2 separate regions of the Homo sapiens genome follow, and region 2 is linked to region 1. Evidence: promoter capture Hi-C in human tissues and cell types (Jung and others, 2019). All regions are on one chromosome and are shown on one strand. The core of a region is centred on a gene start or on the middle of the fragment in contact, and the rest is flanking DNA. Distances in the headings are between cores, read along the strand shown. Region 1 holds the start of MTFMT (mitochondrial methionyl-tRNA formyltransferase). Region 2 overlaps CSNK1G1 (casein kinase 1 gamma 1).

Region 1 (7,506 bases), core at 2,078-4,577:
TTATCCTCACCCTGCAGAAATACCCATATAGTCATGGAGTGGGGTGAGATGACGGGAACAGGAAGTGGAAATGCTTGTTGCCTCTTCCCATTCCCAGATCAGCTCTCCCAGCCCCTAGTCATGGAGGCCACTCCTGCATTCCAGTTTTCTACTAAACGTCTCCATTTGCTTGTCTCATCACTTCAGTTTCAAAGCATTCAAGGGTGAAATGTCATGTTGACCACCAAGTGGGTTATTTCCCTACGTCAATGACACTGCTATTGTCTTGTCACCCAGACTCAGAACCTGGAGTAATTTCATTGATTCAGCATCCGCACACACTCTATTCATCAAGAAAGATAAATTTCTGAAAACAGGAGCACCAACTGAATTAGCATTATCTGGGTTCCAATCCCCTTGTATGTGCTTTCTGGGTGTCTTAATTTATTATGTAAAACTCCTTGCCATTCGGGGCTGGAGTCCTCATCTTCTCTGTGTGCTTTATGATAGTTCCAGTGGTGGATTTATCTGGTCTTGAAAGTAGACACCCCTCGTCCTCTACAACATACTCTTAACTCACTACCAAGAGTTTCAGAAATATTTTCATTTTTACATCCTGGGAAAACCTCAGCCATTACAGTAACACCATGTTCCTTTAAAAAAAAAAAAAGAAGTTTGCTGCAAATCAATTTTAAAAAGAAGTTTGTGTTTGTTAACTAGAAATTTAGATGCCAGTGATAGGAGGCGGATCTGTGGAGGAAAGAAAACGATTGGAATTAGCCCCTCAACCTGAGCAGTCGCTCTGTAGTCATCAAAGGACTCTGGGAATGGTGCAAAACAACCCTAGGGGGCAGGGTTATCTGGGAGAACTCGGGCTGCTGAAAATTAAAGGTAGCATAAAGCAGGCTCTCTAACTCAAGAGCTTAAAACCCACTAGGGAAGAAATGGCATAAACACAGGTACCAAGGTTTACACTTTAGGCAGCAGCCAAATTCTAAGGTGAAAACCAGTTGACTATTTGCATTGTATTTCTAGGTCATGTTGTATGGGAAAAGACCAGTCTTCGAATATTAGAATCACATTCTGCTCACCCTAAGAGAGGATACTGGAACAGAACTTGATCAAGGGAATAGAGGGTTTGGGGTCCCATCTCACTCTCCTTCTCATATGTGATCAGATAAGCAAAATTACTGGAATATCTTCCTCTTTGCTTCTCTTTTCTGTTCAAAACACATGTGAATTTCTCAATGTCTATGCATACATTAGACAACCTTCCTCAGTAATACCAAACTACATGAGAAATGGGGGTCCCTACAGAGTATTAAGGGGGCACATGGGCTAAGCACGGTGGCTCATGCCTGTAATCCCAGCACTTTGGGAGGCCAAAGCAGGTGGATCACCTGAGGTCAGGAGTTCGAGACCAGCCTGCCCAACACGGCAAAACCCCATCTCTACTAAAAATACAAAAAATTAGCCAGACGTGGTGGCAGGCGCCTGTAATCACAGCTACTCAGGAGGCTGAGGCAGCAGAATCGCTTGCACAGGGGAGGTGGAGGGTGCAGTGAGCCAAGATCACACCACTGCACTCCAGCCTGGGTGACAGAGTGAGACTCTGTCTCAAAAACAAAAACAAAAACAACAGCAACAACAAAAAAAAACAGGGGCACATGGAGAAAGACAAGAAATCTAAGGAGGCAAGAGCTTGAAGCTTCAGGGCGAATGTCTGAACTTCGTGTTGAAGAATGGATACCATTTAGAGATGAAGAGATGTGGGAAGGCAGTCTAGGAAGGGAGCATGAGCAAAGGCACAGGAGCAGGGATGTGCAGAGCTCATAATTTAGGAAAAAGGACTGGTCCAGGGTCACTGGGTTTAAGACTGTGTGATGGGAAAAGGTGGTGAGACGGCAGGGCGCAGTGGCTCATGCCTGTAATCCTAGCACTTTGGGGGGCCAAGGCAGGCAGATCACCTGAGGTCAGGAGTTCAAGACCAGCCTGGTCAACATAGTGAATCCCATCTCTACTAAAAATACAAAAATTAGCTAGGTGTAGTGGCGCATGTCCCAGCTACTTGGGAGGCTGAGGCAGGAGAATCGCCTGAACCTGGGAAGCAGCGGTTGCAGTGAGCCAAGATCGCCCGCCACTGCCCTCCAGCCTGAAAAACAGAGCGAGACTCCATCTCAAAAAAAAAAAAAAAAAAAAAAAAAATGGTGGTGAGAATAAGATTAGAACAAAATTCGGTTTCAGTCTCTGCTCAGATCCTGTTTCATGGATGTCTGACTCCACTCAAGGAGGCTTTGGGGATACAGAATCTAAGCACTAACGGTCCTCGGAGGTCTTCTGGGGATAAGGTTCCCTGTCCATTTCCCTAGGAATCACCTCTATGGTATCCTTCTGTGTGCAAAGGAACCCACAGGGGAGGAGTAAAGATGGAGCCTTCGATTCAAGAAAGTAACTGCAGACAAGTAACTAAGGCTCAGTTTCCTCAGGTGCAAAATGTGGGTAATTGACTTGCCTAATACATAGGATCGCTGAGAAGGCCCAACGGCTAGGATTACAAGCGTTGGAATTACAAGAGTCCCACCTCTGCTCTGTCCTTTACTAGCTGTGTGGACCTTATACACTGGTAAGTCCTTAATTTCACGGAGCTTCAGTTTCTCTTCAGTAACATATTTGTAATAGTATCTACCTCCTAAGGTTGATCTGATGATTAACCAGAATAATGAATATAAAATGCTTAGCAAAAACGTGGCACGGAGTGAAGTACTCAGCAAATATTGGTTATAATGGTTGAGGAAATGACATGCACTATATACATGAGGTTTCATTGTCTGAAAACATGCACGATTTGTTACCAAAAGACTTATCCTGGGCCGGCGCAGTGGCTCACGCCTGTAACCCCAGCACTTGGGGAGGCCAAGGCAGGAGGATTGCTTGAGACCTGGGCAACATAGTGAGATACTCTCTCTACAAAAAATCAGCCCAGCATGGTGATGTGTGCCTGTACCCCAGCTACTCCGGAGGCTGAGGTGGGAGGATCCCTTGAGCCCAGGAGCAGTGAGGTTGCAGTAAGCAGAGATCGCGCCACAGCACTCCAGCCTGCGCGACAGAGCAAGACCCTTTCTGAAATAAATAAATAAATAAATAAATAAATAAATAAAGCGATTTTAAAAAGAAAAGAAAGACTTATTCTGGAGGATTGGCTACATAGTGCAAATAAACAGAACAAAAATCTAGGGCCGCTGTAGCGGGCAAATTCGTTCACCAACTCCAACCAGACCCCGCCTCCAAGCAGGCAAGCCCCGCCCTCCCCAGGCTGCACCCTTGTCCCCGCCCCGATGCGCCTGCGCAGGGCCGGCCGCCGGCGGCCGAGGCGATGAGGGTGTTGGTGCGGCGCTGTTGGGGTCCTCCGCTGGCTCATGGCGCCAGGCGTGGGAGGCCGAGTCCCCAGTGGCGAGCACTGGCCCGACTCGGCTGGGAGGACTGCCGGGACTCCAGAGTCCGCGAGAAGCCTCCCTGGCGGGTGCTCTTCTTCGGCACGGACCAGTTCGCCCGCGAGGCGCTGCGGGCGCTGCACGCCGCCAGGTACCCGGGCCAGGGATCCGGGGACCCGGCCGCTGAAGGCCTCCAGGCCGCGCCCGGGCGGCCGGCCCCGAGGGTTTTGGACTTCTGGTTGCGGAAAGCATGGGCGGCAGAGCGGTGTGGGCCCAGATCTCGGCGTCTTCTGGCTCCCAGAAGGTGCGCCATTCCCGCCGGTCAGCCTTTGGGCGCCTAGTACCTGCGGTCTGCGCCCCTCACTCCCCGCCGCCTCTGTGGGTTCTCCAGGCGCCCTGCCACCCACGCTGTGCCGAGCTGGGGCTGGGCGCTCTGCCTGCATCCCCCGGGCCAGTCCCACGGCCTCCCTGCCCGTTTTGAGTGTGGGGAATCCGTGGCTCAGAGAGGTTATGCGATTGCCCAAGGTCATCAGCCGAGGTGGTTCGGACTAAAACCAGGTCCCACTTCAAAGTTCCCTGCTTTGCAGTTCCTCCTGACCCCCATCCTTCGGCACACCCGTGTCTCGCTCTTTTGCTCCCCCTGTGCTCCTTGTATACAAGGACATAGTCCAAAAACGACCTGTTTTCAAAAGAATAAATTTATAAATCAGAACTGTTAGGTATACATTTAGTATTCATAATATTTAACAAGTTTTGTTTACTGGGAAAGAAAATTATTTGAAATCCAACCAGTCCTGAGAGTCCATGGTATGTGGTGGCAATACCGTATATACTTCTCTGCCTCTTTTTCCCAATTAATGTTTTTTATTTCCCCATTCTGTTTTTTTCTGACGCAGTCCTCCTTCCACTTTTTTTGGTCATCTCCATCTCCTTTTCCCTACAGATACTTCACAGCAGCCCCTCATGTATTGAATCCTTCGTCAATCCCCTGTGTGGTTTTCCTTCCTCCACACACCCCTCTGTGCACACACCCGGAAGGAAACCCCATGTTCCCTTTGCACACCCTTCATGGGCTGCTGTTGTCACATGCGTCTCTCACTGCATTTATACATTTATACCAACACTTTTTTTGTTTGTTTCTGAGGCGAGGTCTCGCGCTGTCCCCCAGGCTGGAGTGCAGTGGCCGGCTCATAGCTCACTGCAGCCTCGACCTCAAAGATCAAGCAATCATCCCATCTCAGCTTCCAGAGTAGCTAGGACTACGGGCGTGCACCACCACGCCTGATTTTTAAATTTTTTGTAGAGGCGGGTTTTCACCATGTTGCCCAGGCTTATCTCAAACTCCTGGGATCAAGTGATCCTCTCACCTTGGCCTCCCAAAGTGCTGAGATTACAGGCCTGAGCCATCATTCCTGGCCTATCCTGATACTTCTGATGATGCTTCACTTGGCAGCTCCATTACTCCTGTGCTTTCTTTATAGTGCCCCAGGACATACTCCTCATAACTCCTCAACGTGTACATACAATACCTGTTTAATAAATGTACCCCCCTGGGTACTAGAATGCTATGCAGCAGGTAGAAAGGATGAGGTAGTGCTACAGGTACTGCCATGGAATGATAGCCATGTTATGTATTTTTGTTTGTTTTTTAAAAAGTAGTGTTTGAATGGCATCATGGTTATGGTAAAAAAGTTCCATGGATTCAAAGGATATACAGTGAAAAGTTACTTCCTTCCACCTCTGTTTAGCAGTTCCCAGTTCCTTTATCCAGAGACAGCCACTGTTTTCAGTTCCTTCTAGAAATGTTCAGTGAATATACAAATATACGTATATTTAACCCATTTTTCAAAAAGACACATAATAGCATATATAGCATTGTTAAAAGGAAAAAAAATGCAAAGCAGTATGTAATATCCCAGTTGTGTAAAGTATCCATACTGTATATGTTTCTGTATGCACAGGAAATCCCTAGAATGATACTGTTCAAACAGTAGCCACTAGCCACGTGTCACTCTTTACATTTTAAATAATTAAAATTAAATAAAAAATGAAAACTGAGGCTGGGCACGGTGTTCACGCCTGTAATCCCAGCACTTTGGGAGGTGGAGGCGGACGGATCACTTGAGGTCAGGAGTTGGAGACCAGCCTGGCCAACATGGGGAAACCCTGCCTCCACTAAAAAACACAAAAATTAGCTGGGTGTGGTGGTGCATGCCTGTAATCCCAGCTATTCGGGAGACTGAGGCAGGATAATCGCTTGAACCTAGGGGGCAGAGGTTGCAGTGAGCTGAGATCGCTCCACTGCACTCCAGCCTGGGTGACAGAGTGAGACTCCAGCTCAAAAAAAAAAAAAGAAAAAGAAAAAATGAAAACTCAGTCTCTCACACTAGTTTTAATCATTTAGCCCTAAATGCTTCATGAGATTAATCATAAACATACTTAGCGATATGTGAAGTAGTTTTAGCTTTGAGTCATTGCCTTAACACTGTCACATTTTTCTTCCTATCTAATTTAGGGAAAACAAAGAAGAAGAGTTAATCGACAAACTGGAGGTGGTCACAATGCCTTCCCCATCACCAAAAGGACTGCCAGTGAAGCAATATGCTGTGCAGTCTCAGCTTCCCGTATATGAGTGGCCGGATGTGGGATCTGGAGAATATGATGTTGGAGTAGTGGCTTCGTTTGGCCGACTTTTGAATGAGGCTCTTATTCTTAAATTTCCCTAGTAAGTTTTATTTGTAAGGAAATACAGTATAGAAACCTTGGTCTTTATAAATGGACCTTGTATATAAAATGTGATAATTTGAACTCTATGCTTTCTGTAATATTTTCTTTTTTTATTTTTACCATTTTATTTTTCTGTACATGTTTGCTTAAAGTCAATGAATTTCTCTGCCAGGTTCAGGTAACTGAAGGGCCTTTAGAAGTAGTTTATATTGTTTAAACCCAAGGAATGCTGCAAACACAGTCTGGAACACAATAGGAAATAACATCTTTCTAAAGACAGGCTTATAAATTTGAATCCAGTAACTTAAGATGTTCCCTTTCTCTGGTAACAGAGTTGATTCATACCAGGCTGCTAGGCCTCCAGTCACAGGTATAGACAAGAAAAGAGGGTATAGACCACCAAAAGCAAGACCAATCCACTCTGTGTTATGGTACACGTTTCACAATTCAAATCACCTGTATTCGAAGGAAAATTTACAAAACTTTTGTAAGCTGTGTTTGTTGTAAGAAAAGGGATCACTGCCATTGGTAAGCCAGCAGCTGTAAGAGCCTGTGTCATGTTCAAGACGCATTGAAAAAGACCATTTGCTATGAGGCCACAGAGAGCATTAAATCCAACATATGCTGATCCCTCTTCAGGTAGATTCCTTTCTGCTTGTGGAAGCTGGTTAATTTTTCTGGTTATGATATCAAAGATTGTTAAGTTTTCCTTGATAGTATTAGATTTATGATTTTCCATCTTGAGCCTTATGCTCTTCTCCCAGCAGCTGGTTGGTGCCTCCCCAGGTCGTCTTCAGCCATGCCCGGGCTCACTGAAGCCTTTGCTCAACTCGCCTGGGCACAGCCATATTTGGCTGACACATGACTCGGCCTGATATTTTCTTTTCAAGTACTAAAGAACATTTTATTTGTGGCATGAGTTGTCAAAATGTATTTAACTCCTTATCACCCTCTATAGGCTTTCATCCACCTTCATTTAAATTCCATATATATGCTGACAACGCCCAAATTGGTCCCTCTAGCTCAGCTCGGTCCCCAAACTCTAGTCCCCTAATACCTACTGCCTCCACAGCTCTTCCTGGATGTCTGATAGCCACTTTACATTCAAGATACCCAAAGCATCTCCTAAAATCTTTATCTCAATAAATGGCTACTCCATCATTCTAGCTGCTTGCACCAAAATCCTGGAGTCATGCTTGATTTCTTACGTCCCATATCCAATCCATCAGTAAATCCTATTGGCTCTGCCTTCAAAATCTGTGTAGAATCTGTCTGTATCTCATCACTTCCGCTGCTGCCACTCTCGCCTACATTACTACAGAAGCCTCCTAACTGGTCCCTACTTCTGTCCTTGGCCCTCTCAGTCTTT
Region 2 (7,506 bases), core at 2,532-5,031, 780 kb after region 1:
TTGTCCTCATTAATTTGCAAGAGCTATCCATATGATTGTAATAACCTATGACCTTCGGCAATTTTTAAAAATTAAGTTAATCACTGTAAAAAATGTTTGTTTTTACCAAAAAGCTCTAATTTCTCAAATATCTTACTGGCTTCCAGAAAAATGTTTTGCTAATGTTTACCTGTAGGGACAAGTCTCTCAGAAGATGAAATCTTTCAGAGCTATTTTCACTATTTGACATTAGTAGAATTTCCTCTGCTTTATGCCCCCTTCACTGTGACAGGTTTTATATGAATGACTAAAGCTTGGTTTCTATTTTTTTTTTCTTTCTTTCTTTCTTGTTTTGGAGACAGGGTCTCACTCCCATCACCCAGACTGGAGTGCAGTGGCACGATCACGGCTCACTGCAGCCTGGGCCTTCTAGGCTCAAGCAGTTCTCCTGCCTCAGCCTCCTGAGTAGCTGGTACTGTAGGCATGCACCACCACACCAGGCTAATTTTCTGTATTTTTAGTAGAGATGGGGTTTTGCCATGTTGCCCAGGCTGGTCTTGAACTCCTGGGCTCAAGTGATCCTCCTGCCTTCAGCCTCCCAAAATGCTGGGATTACAGGCATGAGCCATCATACTGTTTGTTCTATTTCAAGTAACCCTATGAAGGTACTACTGAAGGAATTTGAGTTCTGCATCCTAAAATATTTAGAATTATATGAGTCATTGTGTGTTATTCAAGTTTTATTATACCCTGACTATAGCAATAATCAGCTATAGTTATAACCCAGGGAGCCCACAATGGACTTGTCTTTCATTGAACTTAATATGAATTCTTGCTCACAGTAGCCTCTCAGTATATATTTGTTAATTGATTGGAGTGTTTTTGGCATAAGATTTAAGACTGGCAACTGAGTTCACAGGGTGTATACATAACTTGAGGCTTATCTTCCCACATGCCCCAGGACTACATTTTAATTGTTGTTCCTCTTACATTCCTGGTTTTATAATGTTGTTAAGTTATTCTAGGTTTCATAAGTTTTAGGGAAAAGACTGTCACAGCCCATTTATGATAAGCATGTTTGTATATGTCTCATAAATCCAAGGGTCAGGTAACAACATGCTTAATCCAGTCCAGCTTAGAAGTTTAAGTGGGGAAGTGGACAGGCCAGTTTTCAGGATTTCCTCTGTAAGCCCTTTCAAATAGATCCACCAAATCAGACCAATCTTCCCTTTTCAATATAGAGCCAAAAAAAATCTAATGTATTTGTTAGGTAGGAATAACATCTGTGCTGCTGGGTTGGTACTCTTCCCAAATACAGAAAATTGCAAGCTCTTGAAGTTTCAGCATTCTCTGTGCACTGAAAGCGAGGAGTAAACAGGGAGGGCATTAGAGGAAAGGTGACTATACAAATTGCTTTTCACTTAAGCAGCAAGGAAAAACTGGAATCTCTGAGACTGGTATATCCATCATTGTCATGAGTGGGAATAGGAGGGCTCTGTTGTACTGGTTAGGCCAACTGTTGACTCATAGTCAGGTAGGCTGGCCATCGTTGGTCTGTCTCCCAGTACCTTTTCTAACAAACATGTAAAGGTCACAAAGCCTTCTAGGTCCTATATGCAGTTCAGTGGTGACTACTGGCCTCTTTTCTGCTTCTTGAGATCACCCACTACTTCTAAAATAGCTGCGGTGGGCATCATCTTAATACCCTTGCCTGCAACTAACAAGGTAGCTGCAGACTTTTCCAAGATAGGAAGTGCTTTAGTTTTCTGTTTCAAATCCCCTTGCTACCCCTACCCGCTAGTGTAAGAATTACTTTTAGGATTTTCTTACAGTCATCTAAATCGGCTTGACTACTTAGTTCTAATCATAGAGTTCACCACTCTTCAGGCTAATTTAATGTGGGAAAGTCCAGTGTATTTGAAGTTCTTCATATTAGGCCCAAGTTTGCCATTTATTTATATATTTATTATTTTTAAAATTTAGATGGAGTCTTGCTATGTCACCAGGCTGGAGTGCAGTGGCACTATCTCGGCTCACTGCAACTTCCGCTTCCCGGGTTCACGCCATTCTCCTCCTCAGCCTCCCGAGTAGCTGGGCCTACAGGCGCCCGCCACCATGCCCAGCTAGTTTTTTTTTGTAATTTTAATAGAGACGGGGTTTCACCATGTTAGCCAGGATGGTCTCGATCTCCTGACCTCGTGATCCGCCTGCCTCGGCCTCCCAAAGTGCTGGGATTACAGGCGTGAGCCACCACGCCTGGCCAATTTTTTGTATTTTTTTAGTAGAGACGGGGTTTCACCATGTTGGCCAGGATGGTCTTGATCTCCTGACCTCGTGATCTGCCTGCCTCGCCCTCTCTAAGTGCTGGGATTACAGATGTGAGCCGCCGTGCCTGGCCATATTTTTTATTTTATTTTTTCCAGAGTCCAGATGAGGAAGAACATTGGGATATTTTTAAAATCCTGATTATATTATCCTATTGATGATTAGGCATTGACTATTTTTTTATTGTAATTGCATATTGGTCCCACTCTCCCCACTCCCTGCCATAAGATTATAAGCTCCTTGAAAACAAGCCTTGTGTCTTCTTTACCCTTGTATCTCAAGCGTATCTTAAGGCCTGGTGTGATGTCATTCTGTCACATAGCAGTCAGCAAGTAGTTCAGTGGCAGAAAGAAGTTAGAAAGATTTAATAAGCTTGCCTTTTTAGATTTTTACCAATGTTATTAATAAAAATATTCCTTGTGATGGTTAAAAAAAGGAAATTTATTTTGAAAGAAGATCAATTGACAAGAAAATAGACAAGATTTCACCATGTGTCCTTGTAAATGTGAGCATGAACACCAGAGCTTGTTTTTAACTTAGAGGCACAGCATTCCTCCCCCTATTTTTTCAGAGTAAGTTCTCAGCTGCAAGTATGACTCATTGGTAGTTAATGTTTGAGCAGCCAGTGCGCATATGCCACTCTTTTGATTACCAAGGTGATGTTGCAGCATTGTAAATAAACAACCTTTTGTGCCAAAGCCACACAAAGACCACAGTAACATAATTAGTGTTTTTACTCACTAGTGTTTTGTCTGTCATTGTTCATTACTGTCCAGTGAATTATAAAATATTTGGATTTCCTGACAATGAATACTTAAACAAAAAGCCCATTGTGACTTAGGTTTGTTCAGTGAATTAATCATTGCTTATAAATGTATGAAATTATTTGGGAAAAATGATTGATTATGAATTTAAAGAATACCTATTGCTGTGATATCCAGAGCTTGAGACATTAAATTCCTAAAATAGGAACTTTTTGTTGTCCTGGGACTATGACCATTTTCTTCAGTACCCAACTCTTAATCATTACCTTGGCCTTTTGGACCCCAGTTTCACATTGATGACCTGATCTAGAAATTCATACCAATTCTCTAATTATGTAGAGATAGAACAAAAATGACAGCACTGGGTAATTGTGAATGTGGTTCTGGTTGGAGGTCTTCCACATTGTCTCTGCTTTTCCTTGTGTGATCTCTAACTCTTTCTCTTCCATTCCACTTTGTTTTCTAGTGAGTGGTCACACTTTTCAAGCTTTGTTTCTTGATTACAGTTTTACCACCAAGATTTTCAAGACTTAATGCTTAAGAATTGATATCTCCAAGATAATCAGGGAAGAAAGTAAAGGGGACCATGAGAACCTTGAAACTGAGAATAAGCATTTTATTTTCCTGTTAGCTATCATTTTTTCATTTCTTATAGAAACCAAATTGTAAAATCTTATAACTATTTTTCTTATTTTCTTCAATCATCAATGTTATGTTAATTGTATTATGGTCACCATAGGCAAGTTTTAATTTCTTTTCTTTTTATGGGAATGATTTTAGGTTTCAGTATTTCCTTAGGGTCTTTTACTTAGGAAGATACATACATTATCAATTTAAAAATTTTCCAATCCATAAATCTTTTTTCCAGCATAGCTCTCAGTTTTGCTTGTATTCTAGCACACAGGAACAAGATTTGGTGGATGAGAGGTTTGGGGCAGAGATATGAAAGAGTCTGTGGCCGAAACAGATCCGTATTAGGAAGAGTGACAGTATGAGAATGACTCCATAGCTGACCACATGACAACAGCGTGGTATATGTTCGTTAATTGACTAGAAGATGAATAAGCCAGAACCAAGCATGCAGCTGAAGTGGGAGGAAAAAGGGAGGGAGGGGATGAGTCAGCAAGGACCAGAGCAAATGAAAGAGGATTGAGGGTTTAGAGGGTAGGTAAACGGCAGGATAATAGGATTCTTTGCAGTAAATGACAGGAAAATGGAGGTCTCTGACATAACCTGAAATTTCTAAGTCTAGGCTCCCATATCCTGGCTTCCCAGCAGCTATTGTAATCTAGTGACTCTTCTGATTTGGCTCTCTTATAAAGGAGAAGCTAATCCTCAAATTAAAAAATGACAAGATTCCTCCCCCCCCCCCTTTTTTTTTTTTTTAAAGAGACGGACTCTTGCTCTGATTCTGAGGCTAGAGTGTAGTGGTGCAATCGTAGCTTGCTGCAGCCTCAAATTCTTTGGCTCTAGTCATCCTCCCGCCTCAGCCTCCCAAGTAGCTGGGACTACAGGCGCAATGCACCATAGCTGGCTAATATTTTTAGTTTTTTGTAGGGATGGAGTCTCACTATGTTGACCAGGCTGGTCTTGAACTCTTGGCCCCAGGTGATCCTCTCACCTTGGCTGCCCAAAGTGCTGGGATCACAGGCATGAACCACTGTGTCCAGCCTTAACAAGACCCCAGTTGAAACTTCACAAATGCAGTAGTCAAAACAAAATCTCATTGGGCAGAGAAAGCCAGTTAACTTGTTAAATACCTAGTAGGCGGTTCATTTTTAAAATTGATACATAATATACCTATTTATGGGATATATGTGATATTTTGATACATGCATATCTATGTGTAATTATCAAGTCAGGGTGGTTAAGCTACTCATTACCTCAAACATTTACCATTTCTTTGTGTTGGGAACATTTCAAATCTACTCTTCTGGCTATTTTGAAATATACAATAAATTATTGTTAACTATAGTCACTCTGCTGTGCTATCAACACTAGAATTTATTGCTTCTAACTGTATGTTTGTACCCATTAACCAAGCTCTCTTCATCCTCCCCACACCCAACCATTCCCAGCCTCTGGTAACCATCATTCTATATGAGATCAACTTTTTAAGTTTTCACATGAGCGAGAACATGTGATATTTGTCTTTCCCTGCCTACCTTATTTCAGTTATTATAAAGGCCTCCAGTTCCATCTGTGTTGCTGCAAATGACAGAATTTCATTCTTTTTTTGTGTGTGTGTCTTTTTTTTTTTTCCTTTTTGTGGAGAACCGGGGTCTCGCTATACTGCCCAGTCAGGTCTCAAACTCCTGGGCTCAAACTATCCTCCCACCTCGCCTCTCTGAGAGCTGGGCTTACAGGTGTGAATTTCATTCTTTTTTATGGGTGAATAGTATTTCCTTGTGTGTATATGTACCACATTTTTTTGTCCTTTATCTGTTAATGGACACTTAGGTTAATTGCATATCTTTGCTATTATGAATAGAGCTGTAATAAACATGGACGTACACACATGTTTTTGATAAACTGATTTTGATAATGGCTGTGAAGATCATTTGCCCATTTTTAAATCAGATTATTATTTTTACTATTTTTTGCTATTGAGTTGTTTGAATTGCATATATATCCTGGCTATTAATTAATCCCTTATTAGATACATGGTTTGCATATATTATATTTTCTCTTATTCTACTGGTTGTCTCTTCACTCAGTTGTTTCCTTTGCTGTGCAGGAGCTTCTTAGCTTGCTGAAATTCCATTTGTTTATTTTTGCTTCTGTTGCCTGTGTTTTTGAGGTCTTACCTGAAAGATTTTGCCCAGACCAATGTCATGAAGCATTTCCCCAATGTTTTATTCTAGTAGTTTCATAGTTTCAGGTCTTACATCTAAGTCTTTAATCCATTTTGATTTGTTTTTTTTTGTATAGTTAGAGATAGGGGTCTAGTTTCATTTCTCTAAACAGACCATCCTTTCCCTACTGAATGTTCTTGGCACCTTTGTTGAAAATTAGCTGGTTCCAAATATGTGGGTTTATTTCTGGGTTCTCTCCTCTCTTCCCTTGGTCTCTTTGTCTGTTTATGCCAGTAACATGCTGTTTGGTTACTGTAGCTTTGTAGTATATTTTGACATCAGGTAGTGCGTGATTAGTGGGTGATGCCTCCAGCTGTGTTGTTTTTTTTTCCCCGCCTTGATACAGGGTCTTACTCTGTTACCCAGGCTGTAGTGCAGTGATGTGATCACGGCTCACTACAGCCTCAGCCTCCCTCACCACGCCCTGCTAATTTTTTGTAGAGGTGGGGTTTTGCCATGTTACACAGGCAGGCATCAAACTCCTGGACTCCAGTGATCCACCTGCCTCAGCCTCCCAAAGTGCTGGGATTACAGGTGTGAGCCATTATGCCTGGCCTTGCTTTGTTCTTTTTGCTCAGGATTGCTTTGGCTATTCAGAGTCTTCTGTGATTTCATAAGAATTTTAGGATTGTTTTTTCTATTTCTGTGAAGAATGTCTTAGGTATTTTGATATGGATTGTGTTGAAGCTATAGATTGCTTTTGGTATTATTAATATTTTTACAATATTCTTCCAATCTATGAACAAGGGATGTCTCCCCCCGGCCCACACTCTTTTTTTTTTTTTTTTTTAATTTTTCAGTTTCCTTCACCAGTGTTTTACAGTTTCCCTTGTAGAGCTCTTTCATATCCTTGGTTGAATTTATTCCTAGGTATTTTTTTTGTAGCTATTGTAAATGGAATTACTTTCTTGATTTTTTTCCACTAGTTTGTTATTGGGATGTAGAGATGCTACTAATTTATTTATTTCTTATTTTATTTTTATTTTTTGAGACAGAGTCTCGCTCTGTCGCCCAGGCTGGAGTGCAGTGGCGTGATCTCGGCTCACTGCAACCTCTGCCTCCCAGATTCAAGCAATTCTCCTGCCTCAGCCTCCCAAGTAGCTGGGATTACAGGTGCCCACCACCACACCCAGCTAGTTTTTGTATTTTTAGTAGAGACGGGGTTTCACCATGTTGGCCAGGCTGTTCTCGAAGTCCTGACCTCAGGTGATCCACCTGCCTAGGCCTCCCAAAGTGCTGGGATTGCAGGTGTGAGCCACCATGCCCGGCCTGTTTATTTATTTTTTTGAAACAGGTTCTCACTCAGTCACCCAGGCTGGAGTGCAGTGGTGTGATCTCGGCTCACTGCAACCTCCACTTCTCAGGCTCAAGTGATCCTCCTGCCTCAGCCTCCTGAGTAGATGGGACTACAGGCACATGGCTAGTAATTTTTGCATGTTGCTTTTGTATCTTGCAACTTGACTACATTTTTAAATTCATTTTGAGAATTTTTTTGGTGGCAGTTTTAGGATTTTCCACATATACAATCATGTCACTTGCATATAGGGACAATTCGACTTCCTCCTTTTCAATTTGGATGCCCT

The links. The method cuts DNA at HindIII sites, captures the fragments that hold promoters and counts their contacts. A contact is called where the count stands out against the background at its distance.
Region 2: a fragment that was not itself captured here is called in contact with the fragment with the promoter of MTFMT in region 1 in 1 of the 25 tissues and cell types used here (aorta).

What each region holds. Positions count from the first base shown.
Region 1 is chr15:65,025,460-65,032,965 of GRCh38, reverse strand. It overlaps MTFMT (mitochondrial methionyl-tRNA formyltransferase), which reads left to right and starts at 3,327. Exons shown (of 9, transcript NM_139242.4): 1 at 3,327-3,561; 2 at 5,926-6,135. The coding sequence starts at 3,353. It also overlaps the pseudogene LOC100130437. RefSeq lists silencers at 3,175-3,364, 3,615-3,914. The HindIII fragment of the contact is 8,500 bases long and covers 1-7,506 here.
Region 2 is chr15:64,243,574-64,251,079 of GRCh38, reverse strand. All of the region lies in intron 4 of CSNK1G1 (casein kinase 1 gamma 1), which reads left to right. Among named protein-coding and RNA genes, the nearest start is that of PPIB, 84 kb to the right of the region's middle. RefSeq lists enhancers at 2,736-3,030, 3,920-3,979, 4,100-4,600, 4,601-5,101. The HindIII fragment of the contact is 4,593 bases long and covers 1,485-6,077 here.